Regions from separate parts of the Homo sapiens genome. Here all the other regions are linked to region 1. Evidence: promoter capture Hi-C in 16 types of primary human blood cells and fetal thymus (Javierre and others, 2016). All regions are on one chromosome and are shown on one strand. The core of a region is centred on a gene start or on the middle of the fragment in contact, and the rest is flanking DNA. Distances in the headings are between cores, read along the strand shown. Region 1 holds the start of EPRS1 (glutamyl-prolyl-tRNA synthetase 1). Region 2 holds the start of COP1 (COP1 E3 ubiquitin ligase). Region 3 overlaps EDEM3 (ER degradation enhancing alpha-mannosidase like protein 3). Region 4 overlaps TPR (translocated promoter region, nuclear basket protein).

The links. The method cuts DNA at HindIII sites, captures the fragments that hold promoters and counts their contacts. A CHiCAGO score of 5 or more calls a contact.
Region 2: the fragment with the promoter of COP1 here is called in contact with the fragment with the promoter of EPRS1 in region 1 in 1 of 17 cell types (total CD4 T cells); the score reaches 7.7 in total CD4 T cells.
Region 3: a fragment that was not itself captured here is called in contact with the fragment with the promoter of EPRS1 in region 1 in 1 of 17 cell types (total B cells); the score reaches 5.1 in total B cells.
Region 4: a contact is called between a fragment that was not itself captured here and the fragment with the promoter of EPRS1 in region 1, in 1 of 17 cell types (total CD8 T cells). The highest score is 8.2, in total CD8 T cells.

What each region holds. Positions count from the first base shown.
Region 1 is chr1:220,045,007-220,048,204 of GRCh38, forward strand. It overlaps EPRS1 (glutamyl-prolyl-tRNA synthetase 1), which reads right to left and starts at 1,499. Exons shown (of 32, transcript NM_004446.3): 1 at 1,337-1,499. The coding sequence starts at 1,382. RefSeq lists enhancers at 652-1,209, 1,251-1,580, 1,641-1,710. The HindIII fragment of the contact is 10,455 bases long and covers 1-3,198 here.
Region 2 is chr1:176,205,614-176,208,811 of GRCh38, forward strand. COP1 (COP1 E3 ubiquitin ligase) reads right to left here and starts at 1,673. Exons shown (of 20, transcript NM_022457.7): 1 at 959-1,673. The coding sequence starts at 1,365. It overlaps COP1-DT (COP1 divergent transcript), which reads left to right and starts at 2,052. Exons shown (of 5, transcript NR_185981.1): 1 at 2,052-2,258. RefSeq lists silencers at 1,111-1,470, 1,501-1,710 and an enhancer at 2,211-2,280. The HindIII fragment of the contact is 7,879 bases long and covers 531-3,198 here.
Region 3 is chr1:184,749,087-184,752,284 of GRCh38, forward strand. EDEM3 (ER degradation enhancing alpha-mannosidase like protein 3) reads right to left here. Exons shown (of 20, transcript NM_025191.4): 2 at 461-506. Among named protein-coding and RNA genes, the nearest start is that of EDEM3, 4.2 kb to the right of the region's middle. The HindIII fragment of the contact is 1,638 bases long and covers 681-2,318 here.
Region 4 is chr1:186,360,030-186,363,227 of GRCh38, forward strand. It overlaps TPR (translocated promoter region, nuclear basket protein), which reads right to left. Exons shown (of 51, transcript NM_003292.3): 6 at 2,808-2,972; 7 at 2,259-2,351; 8 at 1,760-1,840; 9 at 1,593-1,680; 10 at 736-876; 11 at 244-335. Among named protein-coding and RNA genes, the nearest start is that of TPR, 14 kb to the right of the region's middle. The HindIII fragment of the contact is 3,545 bases long and covers 1-3,198 here.

The DNA.
Region 1 (3,198 bases), core at 249-2,748:
ATGCCAAAACATTACCATCTTTTAAATGTTTAAAATGGCTATTAAGTTGTGTTTTTGTTCAACAACCTTAAAACATCACCAAAGTTGAGAATATAATGAATAATTTCATCAGCCCCACGTGGTCAACTGTATATAAAGGTATGGGCTTCTTCAACATTAGAAAGTACTGTGTGTGTATTATCATACATATGCATTAACAAATATTAGGTCAGGCTGGGTACTGTGGCTCACGCCTGTAATCCTAGTACTTTGGGAGGCCAAGTCAGGATGGCTTGAGCCCAGGAGTTTGAGACCTGCCTGGGCAACACAGTGAAACGCCATCTTTCCAAAAAAGACACAAACACAAAATTAGCCAGGCATGGTGGCACGCGCCTGTAGTCCCAGCTACTAAGGAGGCTGAGGTGGGAGGATCATCTGAGCCCGGAAGTTCGATGCTGCAGTGAGCCTTGAAAGCGCCACTGCACTCCAGCCTGGACGATAGAGCAAGACCCTGACTCTCAAAAGAAAAAAAAAAATCGGCAAACTACTTAAATTCTTCTGTGTAATTTCCCAAAGTAATGAAAAAGCAGAAATTCTAAGCAATCTACCAACAATAATCTTGGTCATGTCGAAAAAATAATTCCAAACAGAACTTAAGATGTGTCAGTAAGGTGACAGATCCAATGTTTACTCTGAAATTTACTACACATCCACAGGGTGCAGTAAAAGCAACCGCATCAGTCTACAGTGTACCTGGGTGTTTTCCCCAATTACCCTACCACATTTAATTAAAAATAAATGCAGCCTCAGTTGAAATCCTAAATGCTAATATGCTCGTCTGGGTTATTTCTTCTGAACTCGATAAAACGTAAGGAAAATTTGACTCAAGTGAACTGAGGATTTCTCCTGAGAGGAGGGACAGGACAGGAAAGGAGGTAAGAAAAGGAGTTGGGGGAAAAATGCTAAAAGAGAAGCGACGACTATTGGATTTTAAGTTTTAAAATCTTATTTCCACGAGCAACTCTCGCTCTCCGGGGGAAAAAGGGAGAGGTGAGTTGACTGGGAGTTCATCCCTCTGAGAAAAAGATCCGAAGCGGAGTCTCGTGTTGTCTAGCCCGGGCTCACACTGCGCCTCCCTCCATGCCCGGGAAAACCATCTTCAGGAGCAGATGCACCTGCCGGGGACACGGGGCGAGGGGTGCGGAGCCTCCTCCACGTACAATTCTGGGGCGAGGGGCAGGTCCAACATCCCAGATGGTGACCACCACTGCGCAAAGCCGGGGCGCAGCGACCTTCCACGCCCTGCACCCTCCCTGGCTGATGCAACCCACACAGGTCATTGGTCTCGGCCCCTTACCTAGCGGAGGGTCTCCTGAATTCACGGTCAGAGAGAGCGTCGCCATCTCCACCAGTCCGCTGGTCCACCTGTCAGTACGCCTGGCTCGTGCCAGAACTACGGAGGACCCCGCGAAAGGAAGAAGATGCAACGTGTGCGCGTACCCGACGCCGCCGCAGCCTTCGCTCCGCCCCTGCGCCGCAGCTACTGCCGACACCGCGCACGCCGCGGTGCGACATCGTCGCGCGCCGTCTTCGTCCCCGCCCGCAGGTTCCAGAGCCTGCTACCCCTCCTCTTGGCCGCCAGGGTTAGAACGGCCTGCGTGGCCTTTCGTGCTGCGGTGGGAAAGACGCTGAAGTGGACGGGACTTTACGACACTTCGTCAAGTCAGCAGGTCGTAAAACAGCAGGTTGTAAAACCATCTTTAAGATGGGATAGGCGTTTATGTGAAGCACGAAACAAAAGCATGCACTGTCTTTATGTAAAAAGAAAAGTCCTGGAAGCATACACACGATAGCCATGATTACGTTGGGAATGGGAGAAGTTTTTCTCGTTGTTTATTTTATACATTCCCCCCCGTTTTTTTTTTTCCAAAACAAGAACGTATTTTCAAGAGTTATTTGCGTGTTGAAAATAATGGTTAAAGGAAATATAAAAGACTCTTTAAAAATCACTGCAGGCCGGGCGTGGTGGCTCACGCCTGTAATCTCAGCACTTTAGAAGGTGTAGGCGGGCGGATCACCTGAGGTCAGGAGTTCGAGACCAGTCTGGCCAGCATGGTGAAACCCCATCTCTACTAAAAATACAAAAATTAGCCTGGCATGGTGGTGGGCCCCTGTAATCCCAGCTACTTGGGAGGCTGAGGCAGGAGAATCGCTTGAACCTGGGAGGTGGAGGTTGCAGTGAGCCGAGATCGTGCTACTGCATCCAGCCTGGGCGACAGAGTGAGACTCCTTCTCGAAAAGAAAAAAAAAAAAAATCACAGCAGAGGCCGGGCGCGGTGGCTCAGGCCTGTAATCCCAGCACTTTGGGAGGCCGGAGGCGAGCGGATCTCGAGGTCAGGAGTTGGAGACCAGCTTCACCAACATGGTGAAACTGTAGAGACGGGGGTCTCTACTAAAAGTACAAAAATTAGCCGGGAATGGTAGCGCGCACCTTTAATCCTAGCTACTTGGGGAGCTGAGGCAGGAGAATCGCTTGAACCCGGGAGGAGGAGGTTGCGGTGAGCCGAGATCGCGGCACTGCACTCCAGCCTGGGCGACAGACTGAGACCCCGTTTCAAAACAAACAAAAAATCACTGCAGATAGGCGCAGTGGCGCGCTCCTGTAGTCTCAGCTATTAAGAAGGCTGAGGCAGGATCGCCTGAGCCCAGGAAGATGAGGCTGTAGTGGCCTCGCCGTGGACTTGCCTGTGAGTAGCCACTACCCTCCAGCCTGGCCGACACAGGGAGAGACCTGATCTAAAAAACAAAACAAAAAAACCCTCCGATGCCGCCCCCAATCATGGAGTCCACAGGTGTTTTTTTCAGCGTCTCATCTGATTCTCCCTTTCAAATCCTTTGTGACGGACGTGCATGCATGAGCTCCAGAGATACTCCAAGGTGTATACACACATTCGTGTGTGTGAGCTGCACCCATATTTCAAGGGCTGGTGTTAAAGTACGGGGACCCGGGATGGATTCCAAGAACCATCTCAACCACATCCTCGCCTACACTTTTTCTTAACCTCCCCAAGACATCCTTGTTTTCATTAGGGAGGGCCCCTTAGATTACATCTCCCATGAGACTTGAGGCCAGGCGCGGTGGCTCATGCCTGTAATCCCAGCACTTTGGGAAGCTGAGGCGGGCGGATCACCTAAGGTCGAGAGTTTGAGACCAGCCAA
Region 2 (3,198 bases), core at 423-2,922, about 44 Mb before region 1:
CTAACAGCAATTACTTCTCATAATCCTACCAATATCTAAAATCCAATAAAAATTCCAAAACACTCTCAAGCAAGACAATCAACACCACCTTTCACTTCATATGACTAACCTCTCTATCCCAAATGTCATGACTAAATGTTACTCTGTATCATTCAAGATGCCAACTATGACGACAAAATGTCTATACCTAGCATTTCTCAAGTCAGAAGTTCCAGTATACTCTGTTATCCAGTATAGTACAGTTACATCTGACACAGGGATGTTATTTAACAAACGTGGTTCTCTCTTTTCAAGACACTTGGTGGAGAAGTGAAAAATCTGTTAACAGACTTTGACTACAGTCGTCTCAACAGCCGATTCCTAAGTGGCCCATCCTTTGAAATGGAAGAAGATATTTACACATACATACGATAGGTACTTACATTATTATAAAAAGCATGTCTTTATAAGACATCCATGCTTATGTTTACAGCATCATCTACCATACTTCAAATAAATTTTGACCAACTCCACCCCTCTGCATCCGAGGAAGCTTAGTCCTCTCCATTTGCAAATTTCATTCATCTCAACAAGGACTCCTGATTGACTGAGTGTTCAATTCATCAGAGAGGCAAAAATTTTAAGACTCAACCTCTCTGCCAACTTTGTTATCCAAAACCATTTATTTGACCTTCCACCTCTTCCCTCGTCATTCGTTAAACTCCCTTCACTTCCTCCTCAGCAACACTTACCTACCTCTTTATTATCCCCACCCTGCCTCGCTACTCCAACATTCCTTCACCCCACCAACCAGGAGCTCGAATGCCTGCAAACGCTCGATTCCCTCTGCAGACACCACCACAGCACCAGTATCCCAAGCTCTCCAACAAGCCACCCCCACACCAGACCCCCCGCCCCCAAGCCTAAGCGGCAGAAACTCATAATTTAGGGACAAGGAGGGAGTGCTCTTCAAACCCACCATACGAAGTCGTTGCTTTTGTCCTCGTAGGAGTTGATGAGCCCGTTGCAGAGGGGGGCGAGGAGAGGTCGCTTCCTGCTGCCGCTGCCTAGGCTGGAGCTGCTGCCTCCTACGCCGGCGCTGGGCCTGGCCGCGCAGCTGTGCCGGGACAGGCCCGTGGACACCGCCCCGCCGCCGCTACCCGATACGGCGGGCGCCACCAACACAGGCCGCACCGGGCCCCCGAGGCCGCCCGAGCCGGCGGCCTGGGCCACCCCGCCGGACACCAGCGCTGCCGCCGAAACCGCCACGGAAGGCGGCGACGGGGAAGAGGATAAAGACGAGGAGGCGGAAGTCACCGAGGAGGCCGCCGAGGACCCGGGGCTTGTCCCAGCGGAGCCCGACCCGGCCTGGCGGCTACCAGACATCGTGACTCCCTCCCCTCCAGCCGGGCGCTCGGAGGAGAGGGACCGCGACCTCGACCCTCCGCCGCCTCCCCTCCCCTCAGCCTCAGTGCATCCTGAGGACGCCCGCCGAGCCGGAGGTGGGGCTGAGGAACAATAAAGTTGCGTTTTTTTTTAAGGCAGCCACACAACAGCGTCCCACGGGAGGGGGCGGAGGAAACTAAAAAAGCGGAGTAGAAGGCACTACCGCTGTCGAGGCCGCCGCCGCCACCGCGGTCCCTGTAGCAGCCAACCCCGGCGCGCCGTGGCCGGCCGTGCGCGCGCGCGCGAGCGGCGGAAGAGGCGGGCGTGGCGGGGGATACAACTGGGGACGCAGCGGGGCTGCGCTCAGACGCTCAGGGCGCGCCCTCGGGGTCGGGGCTCCCTGGCGAAGGGAGTCTGTCTGTCCCAAGCCGCTTTCGTTCCAGAAAACGTGCCAGAGGGCAGGCCGTCTTAATACAGTGAAAGAATTGAGGAGACTGGAATGAATGGTATAGGTGGTGGGGTGGTTTGAAAGACGGGAACGTAGCGGGCGGAAACTCTCGAAAAGCGACTGCGCAGGCGCGCGCCGGGCGCGGACGCTCACGGGTCACCCAGGGTATCCGCCCCAAGCGGAGAATATCGGCGCAAGCGCGGAGTAGCCGTGTCACGCATGCGTGCGAACGCACCACATTCCGGAACGGGAAGAAGGAGCTGTCTCTCTCTTCTGAGGGGTAGGCAGGTGCTTCCGAATCGCGGAATGTAGGTGCTCATAAGCTGGAGACCCACGGAAAGAACCTAGAAGCTCCGAGCGGTTGCAGACAGCACTGCATTGAGCCAACGACTCCTGCTCTACTGATGGTGATTCCACAGCTTTGTGAGGAATAAGTTAAGATGAAGTCAGTGAAGTTTTCTGCGAATTGCAAACATTGTAGCAAGTGTTACCAATTTTATTAGTTCGACCACGACTTCACTCCTATATTTTGAAAAGCTGTTTGCCAAATTGAACATAACAATAATGGGAAAACAGATTTTGCTCAATCAGACCCAGCTCAGTCGGAACCTAGGTTTATTGTGGATCTGATATAATTCTAGCACAAAACAAGGAAACCTAGCATTTAATACCACCAGAAAATATACAATTTCTGGTAGGCTTTTTTAGAATATTGAAAATTGATTATAGGCGGGCGCGGTGGCTCATGCCTGTCATCGCAGCACCTTGGGAGGCCTAGGGGGTCGGATCACCTGAGCCTGGAGGTGAGGATCAGGCTGAACCTGAGGTTAGAGACCAGCCTGGGCAAGATAGCGAAACCCCGTCTCTACAAAAAGTACAAAAAATTAGCTGGGCATGGTGGCAGCAGGCCTGTAGTCCCAGCTACTCGGGAGGCTGACATGGGAGGATTGCTTGAGCTGGGGAGGTTGAGGCTGTAGGGAGCGGAGATCCCTACACTCCAGCCTGTGAGACAGAGACCCTGTCTCAAAAAAAAAAATTTTTTTCATTTGCCGCATTCTAAGGGGTGGGAGTTAGAAACAACTGTGTGATTTTATCCTTTTCAATTCTATCATTCTATGATTCTTATATATTTATTTGGGAATAAAGTGTGAAAATACTCATGACTTAGTAAACTACGTGCGTATTCAAGGAGGTAAAGGAAGGCAAAGGTTTTTAAAATTTAAAAAAAAATGAGAATTACATAATTGTTTTTAAACCGTTATCCTTGGCTACGAAGATCAATAACAAGGTGACACCAGTCGGAAACTGGACAGGAAGTTGCTGGGCAGATGTTTTTGCGGAAGTATTTTTTGTGTAAGATTGTGGCTTTTGGCCAGGTGCGGTGG
Region 3 (3,198 bases), core at 250-2,749, about 35 Mb before region 1:
ACTAAAAAGCAAAATATATTCAGTGCAGAGTCCATGAGGATACAATTAGGACAGAGGCTAAGTAACAATTTCTCTTTTAAGCAATGGTTTTCTTCAGTGTATAAATATTGTAAACATTTTTTTAAATTAAGAGAATAATCTCCCTTAAGACCAGAGATAACATCTTCATGTATATATCCACAATATCTAGCTATATAAAGCACTCAATGATAATTGTTGATGGCACCCAAGGAAGCTGTTTAAATAATGAAGTTTCATAATCTAATTTCAATTTATTCTTATCTGTTCAATAAACTGGTTCCCTAAAAACCACTACCAGAAAGACTATTTTTGCCCTGTTTTTTAAAAACTTCCTTTTAAAAAATGTAATTGTATTGTAGGTTTCAAAATTCCCAGTTGACTGTGCTCACATAATAATCAACTCACATAAATGGTAGGTAAAGATAAGCTTCCTACTTACCATATAGTTACCATAAGCATGATCAAACATTTCCAGTACTTGATTCCTAATTTTAAAAGAGCAGAAATGGAAAAAAAAAAAAAAAAAGGTAAGTATATTCTATTTATTATCTTTCAAAAAGTTAATTCTTCCTCATAAAAAATATACCAATAAAAACAAAAGAAAAATTTAGGTAGAAAGGGACATAAACAGAATCAGAAACTACAACAGCTAGCAGACAAGCTTTCATGAACTCACCACACAGAGCTGAGCCAAACTTTAATGATTACTAGTAATTTATGTACAATTCATCTTATAATTTTTCCTAAGAAAACTGATGAATGATAGATGCCATCATCAGAGAAGGAAATCTGATGCAGAAAAACAATGACCTCTTAACACAATTATTTAACGTATCTGTCTTGAAGCGGGGGTTTTGCTGGACAGCCCTTTAAAAAAACCATTATTATTGCCATTTATTGCTTCCCCTATATGTTCTACTAAGAGAGAGGTACACAGGTGTGTAGTGACATGAAATAACAACGCTTTATGAAGCCTCTGCCTTTGCACTTACATTGAATAAACCACTAATGCCTAGTTTAAGTACATATTTATTAATGTTTGTCATATTTTCAAAAGATACTTTTTATGATGTGCTCTACTCTAAAAAAACTGTCAAAAATCAAATAAATAGTATTCACTTCCAAAATGAGAAAACTAATGCTCAAAAAGAGAGTTGTGTGTTTTGGCGAATTCTGTTTCACAAAATCTCCGTAACCACTGTTTAAAATGGAGATGTCTGATCACTACACCAGAATTTTACTAAATCAAAACCTGTAAGGTTGCGACTGAGGAAGCAGCCTTTCAATTAAGCACTCTCAAGTTCAGGGACTTGAGGACTACAGGAAAAAGTACAAGTTAATTGTATGACCAGACAAGGCCAAATAATTAGCAAAGGAAAACACAGCTTAACAATTTTTTATTAACTTTTTCTTTTTTTTTTGAGACAGGGTCTCACTCTGTCACACCTAGGCTAGAGTGCAGTGGCACGATCTCAGCTCACTGCAACCTTCACCTCCCAGGTTCAAGCGATTCTCCTGCCTCAGCCTCCCGAGTAGCTGGGATTACAGGCGTCTGCCACCATGCCTGGCTAATTTTTGCATTTTCAGTAGAGACAGGGTTTTACCACGTTGGCCAGGCTGGTCTCGAACTCCTGACCTCATGTGATCCACCCGCCTCAGCCTCCCAAAGTGCTGGGATTACAGGTGTGAGTTACCACGCCCGGCCTATTAACTTTTCTTTTACCAAAGTTCCAATCACTGATGGCAAGAATTGAAAAAAGTGTTAAAGAAATTGCTGACTATATTTTTATTTGCCTCCTGTTATACTGCAATTGTCATTTTTAAAACTATAATCACAGATTATGAAATACTGGTAATAATAGAGCTAGCAAACAGAAAAGACCTCAGTTCCAGATCCTGACTATGAACACCAACAAAATCAAGTACACTCAAACTTGTGAACGAATTAAGTCCTGACAACATATGAATAATAACCACTTAAAAACATTTCATTATTTAAAAAAAGACCTTACCACCACTTTGCTAAAGCACTAATTCTTTGTAAGTTTACATATATATATATGTTTATATATATATAATTTTTATATTTGTGGTTTACAGCTCTAGACTCTTATCCTGTCCTAAGCAGAAAAAAAAAAGTTTAAAATGTCCCTTTCAGGAACTCATATCAATGAATGGAAGATGGAAGTCCTCTTTTTTTTCCTTCCCTGAAATGGAATACGAGATTATTACCAAGAAGTAGAAATTCCTATAATTGGCAATGGTAGTGCCTAGACATGTATATTACAAATGACATAAGCTTTAACTTGCTAACTCAACTTTACAAGCATTCAATTTTCAAGACTGTAAGTAAATCATGATTGCATACAAGGAGAATACACTATTTTCCAATCCTTACATTTATGCAGCATATGATGAGCAAATTTTAGAACACATATTTCAAAGTGGAGCTATTTAATATCATTGCTCTTACACATAGAAGCCTAACAAAGTCACATTTAAATACAGAATGGTATAATAATTACTATACTGAACAGAAAAAAAAATTTCCATAATGTTTTATCTATTCAAAAACTGGATTAAAATGTATTGGAAATCAGACCCAGTTCAAAAATTACACCACTCTTCAGTAATTTCTGTAAGTCGGCTTTTTCTCTTTTTTTGAGACAGAGTTTTGCTCTTGTTGCCCGGGCTGGAGTGCAATGGCACGATCTCTGCTCGCTGCAACCTTCGCCTCCAGGTTCAAGCGATTCTTCCTGCCTCAGCCTCCCGAGTAGCTGGGATTAAGGGCATGCGCCACCACACCTGGCTAATTTTGTGTTTTTAGTAGAGAAGGGGTTTCTCCATGTTGGTCAGGCTGGTCTCGAACTCCCGACCTCAGGTGATTCGCCCGCCTCAGCCTCCCAAAGTGCTGGGATTACAGGCATGAGCCACCATGCCAGGCCAAGTCGGCTTTTTCTAAAGTTACGTCTCCTGCCCACGTGCTATAGAAACTGGATTGTTTTCTACTTCATTTTTTAATGAAAACATAACATTAACAAAATACCCTGTTGCAAAATTTTAAAAACAAAACCAAAAAGCTTATTCCATGAAGGATAAGACTACATATAACCAGCTAAGTAATTCCACAAAGTGTAAGTTATTGAGCAATTGCTTACTATTCATGACAATTCCAGT
Region 4 (3,198 bases), core at 308-2,807, about 34 Mb before region 1:
CCATAACAACGCAAATATTTAGTTGATCTAGTTTCATAATAAACATTCTTTAACACTAACACAAAATGGCAATGTTTACTATGTTAGTTACACAGCACTAGGAACCAAAGAAAGCCTTTCCTAGAATGATCCACTAATTATAAGATGATTTTAAAAATAAGTTTTGGGAGAATTAAATTTTGAAGAGATTTGTATACATTTGCTGAAGAAAAAGAATTTAACAACATTTAATACCATTCTTACCTCAGTTAGTTTCATCCCAGGTTTCACTATCTTAGCTACAGCTGCTGCAGTAGGAGACATGGCGGCAAGCTCTTCTTCAGACAATATGGCTCCTGTGCCAACAAATACACATCTAGTATAATTTGTAAAATTCCAAACTAAAAGCCATTAATAATTTTTCAAGGTAAGTGACATGTACTGTACATTATATAGTAATTCCTATAAAAATTTTAAATACATGACATCAAAAAGTCATGTAACACATCTAATTCTAAAAAATCATGCAATAACCTGGGAATTTACAAGACTGTGTGTGATCAAATGGTATTTATATGCCCGATTCTGTAAAGATACAGGTAAGAGTATTAATTTTAAAACAAATTCTATTAATATAACTCGATGGAGTTTCCTACATCACAGCATGACAGATAAATACTATTAGTGAAATTAAATGACTTTTATGTAGGAAAGCTGTAGTATTTCAACTCACTAACAAGCATCTATTAGCCATACCTTTACGTTTTGTGGCAGAAAGAAGGTCATTTGCATTCTCTAATTCCTTCTCCAATCTCCCTATTTTCTCAAGCATTTCTTTTTCCATTTGATCTTTGGATTGCTCCACCTCTAGAAGATGATCTTGTATTGCTTTGTTGGCTAAAAAACAATTTTAAAGACCAAATATTCAAACATACAGTTAAAATTTTAGTTTACAAAATGCAACAGATCAGTCACTTCTCCCCTCAGCAGATAATATTAAATTTCTAGAGAGGCTTCAGCTGACAGTATCTATTGAAAGTTCTTGCTCTACTTATAATTTTGGAATTGTCTTCGCCTGGTGTTTCTCCTTTTGATGTCTCTTACCCACAAAGAAAATAAGGAAACCCAAAGGGTAAAAAGTGGTTCTAGGTATATCTTTGATTTCGATTTTGATCTTTAATCCTAAGTAAAGGAAATTATTGGAAAAGACCATAAATATAATACATTGAAAAAAGCAAAAATTTGAGGAAATAAAAGACTTTACAAAATGCAAATAAAGAGGATGTCTTATTTATAAAGTAAGAGTATTCAAACATTATCAGAGTAAATGTTTCAAAAAAGAAAACTTTCTCATTAGAAATCAGCAAATTATACAAGATTATTAGATAAAAAACAAACAAAACCCCCTGCTGTCTGTATTTTCAAAAATATATAAACTTACATTTGCTTAAGATATAATTCTGAATTTCCTAATCCAAAGTTCTTTCTTCTGTACCTAATTCTGTCCCAAATAAAGTCTAACACCTAAATCCAATCATCTATACAAAACAAGGGTAAAAAAAAAAAAAGAGTACAATAACAAAAATAATGTTCCCATAACTGAAAACACTTACCTTCACCAGCTTCTTTCAAAAGTTTGTGTAGTTCCTCTACTGCCCGGGTTAGTTCATTGCTCTTTGCTTCTGAGTCATCAGCGGCACTCTAAAAGTTAATCTTAAAAAGTTACCTAACAGTCAACAATGCAACATTTAGATACTAACATGTGTGGTGGGATATTTACCTTGTACAAATTAGAAAGTTTTATGTGGGCATTTAATTCATTGTGGAATTTCTCTTCCATACTGGCCTGTTGTTCCTTGGCCTGAAAAAAATAGCCCAATTATAGCAGTCTACTTTGAACTAAATTTAGAATGCTTATCAAATGACAAGATGAAAAATTCCATTTTTGTAAAGTAAGAGCTAAATCTAAAACACTCAAATTCAAATCAGTCTTCATGACAAAGATAAATTAAGGATAAAATATTACTAATATTTTAAATTCAAAGTAAAATAATTAAACAATAAAATTAACCCATACTCATTTTTTAGATAGTATTTTCAATATAACATATAATTGCTATTTCTGATTCTATTTTAGCCTAGCTACAGCATATGGAAGGAGGACTCTCACTGTTTTATGGGGCCAAGGACAGATTAAAAAATGACATCATTTTGTGAAATAACAGCTTCGTAAGTGCTTTAGTATTTTGTAAAAAAGACATTTTAATGGTCATATATACCTCTTTTAATTTGGTCAACAGATCCTCCACATGCTTTTGAAGATGTTCATTTGATGTTTTTAAGCCATTCATTTGTTCTTCCAGTCTAGAAACCTAAAAACAAAAAATAGAGCAGGGGGAAAGGATGTCATATTAACTGAAATTACTCTGACATGAGGTTTATGCTGCTAAGGAAAAGCTAAGTAACTCCCCCTCCCCACCTGAAAAAGCAATTAAAATATGCATATTTAAGAAAACTAAGAGTAACTGCTCACAGAACAATGTTTAGATTTAGCTCACAAAAACTTACCACCACTTCTTAAACAAACACATATTTTAGGAAAGATATATCGTAAGACAGTAGATACTAACCAGATTTGACAAAGAATCTTAAATTCTTTATGTAAACGCAATTGGTTGATTTTTTACGCCAAATGTAATGCATTATTCACATTTAACCACTCATCTTACAACTAATCAGGTACACACTACTGAATACATATTTAATAAACTGACATACAAATGTAAGTTATACTCAACATGAAGAAAAACACAATTTTACTAACTTACCTCTTCTTTTTTATTTTCAAGATTACATTTAAGCTCTAGAATCTCATTCCCTTTTTCTCTTCCAAGAGCCAGAAGTTCATCAGTTTTGGTTTTCAACTCTGTATTCAGCCATGTATTCTGACTATGTAGCAATTCCTTTTCTTGCTCCAAGCGTTTTTCTCGATACTAAAGAAATCCAAGAAAATAACACGTACAGTTAAAGATGATATATGATTATTCAAAAGATTTTGTCTGTAGCTAAGGGACACAAGCAGAATTTTATTTCAAAACAGAAATTAAGTATTTGCATAGATTCTTAACTAGAAAACATTAAGAACTGTAACAAACTTAAATTTCAAACAAGCAAAACAGATGAACTAGAATTGTCCTAATGCTTAATTTTCTGACATTA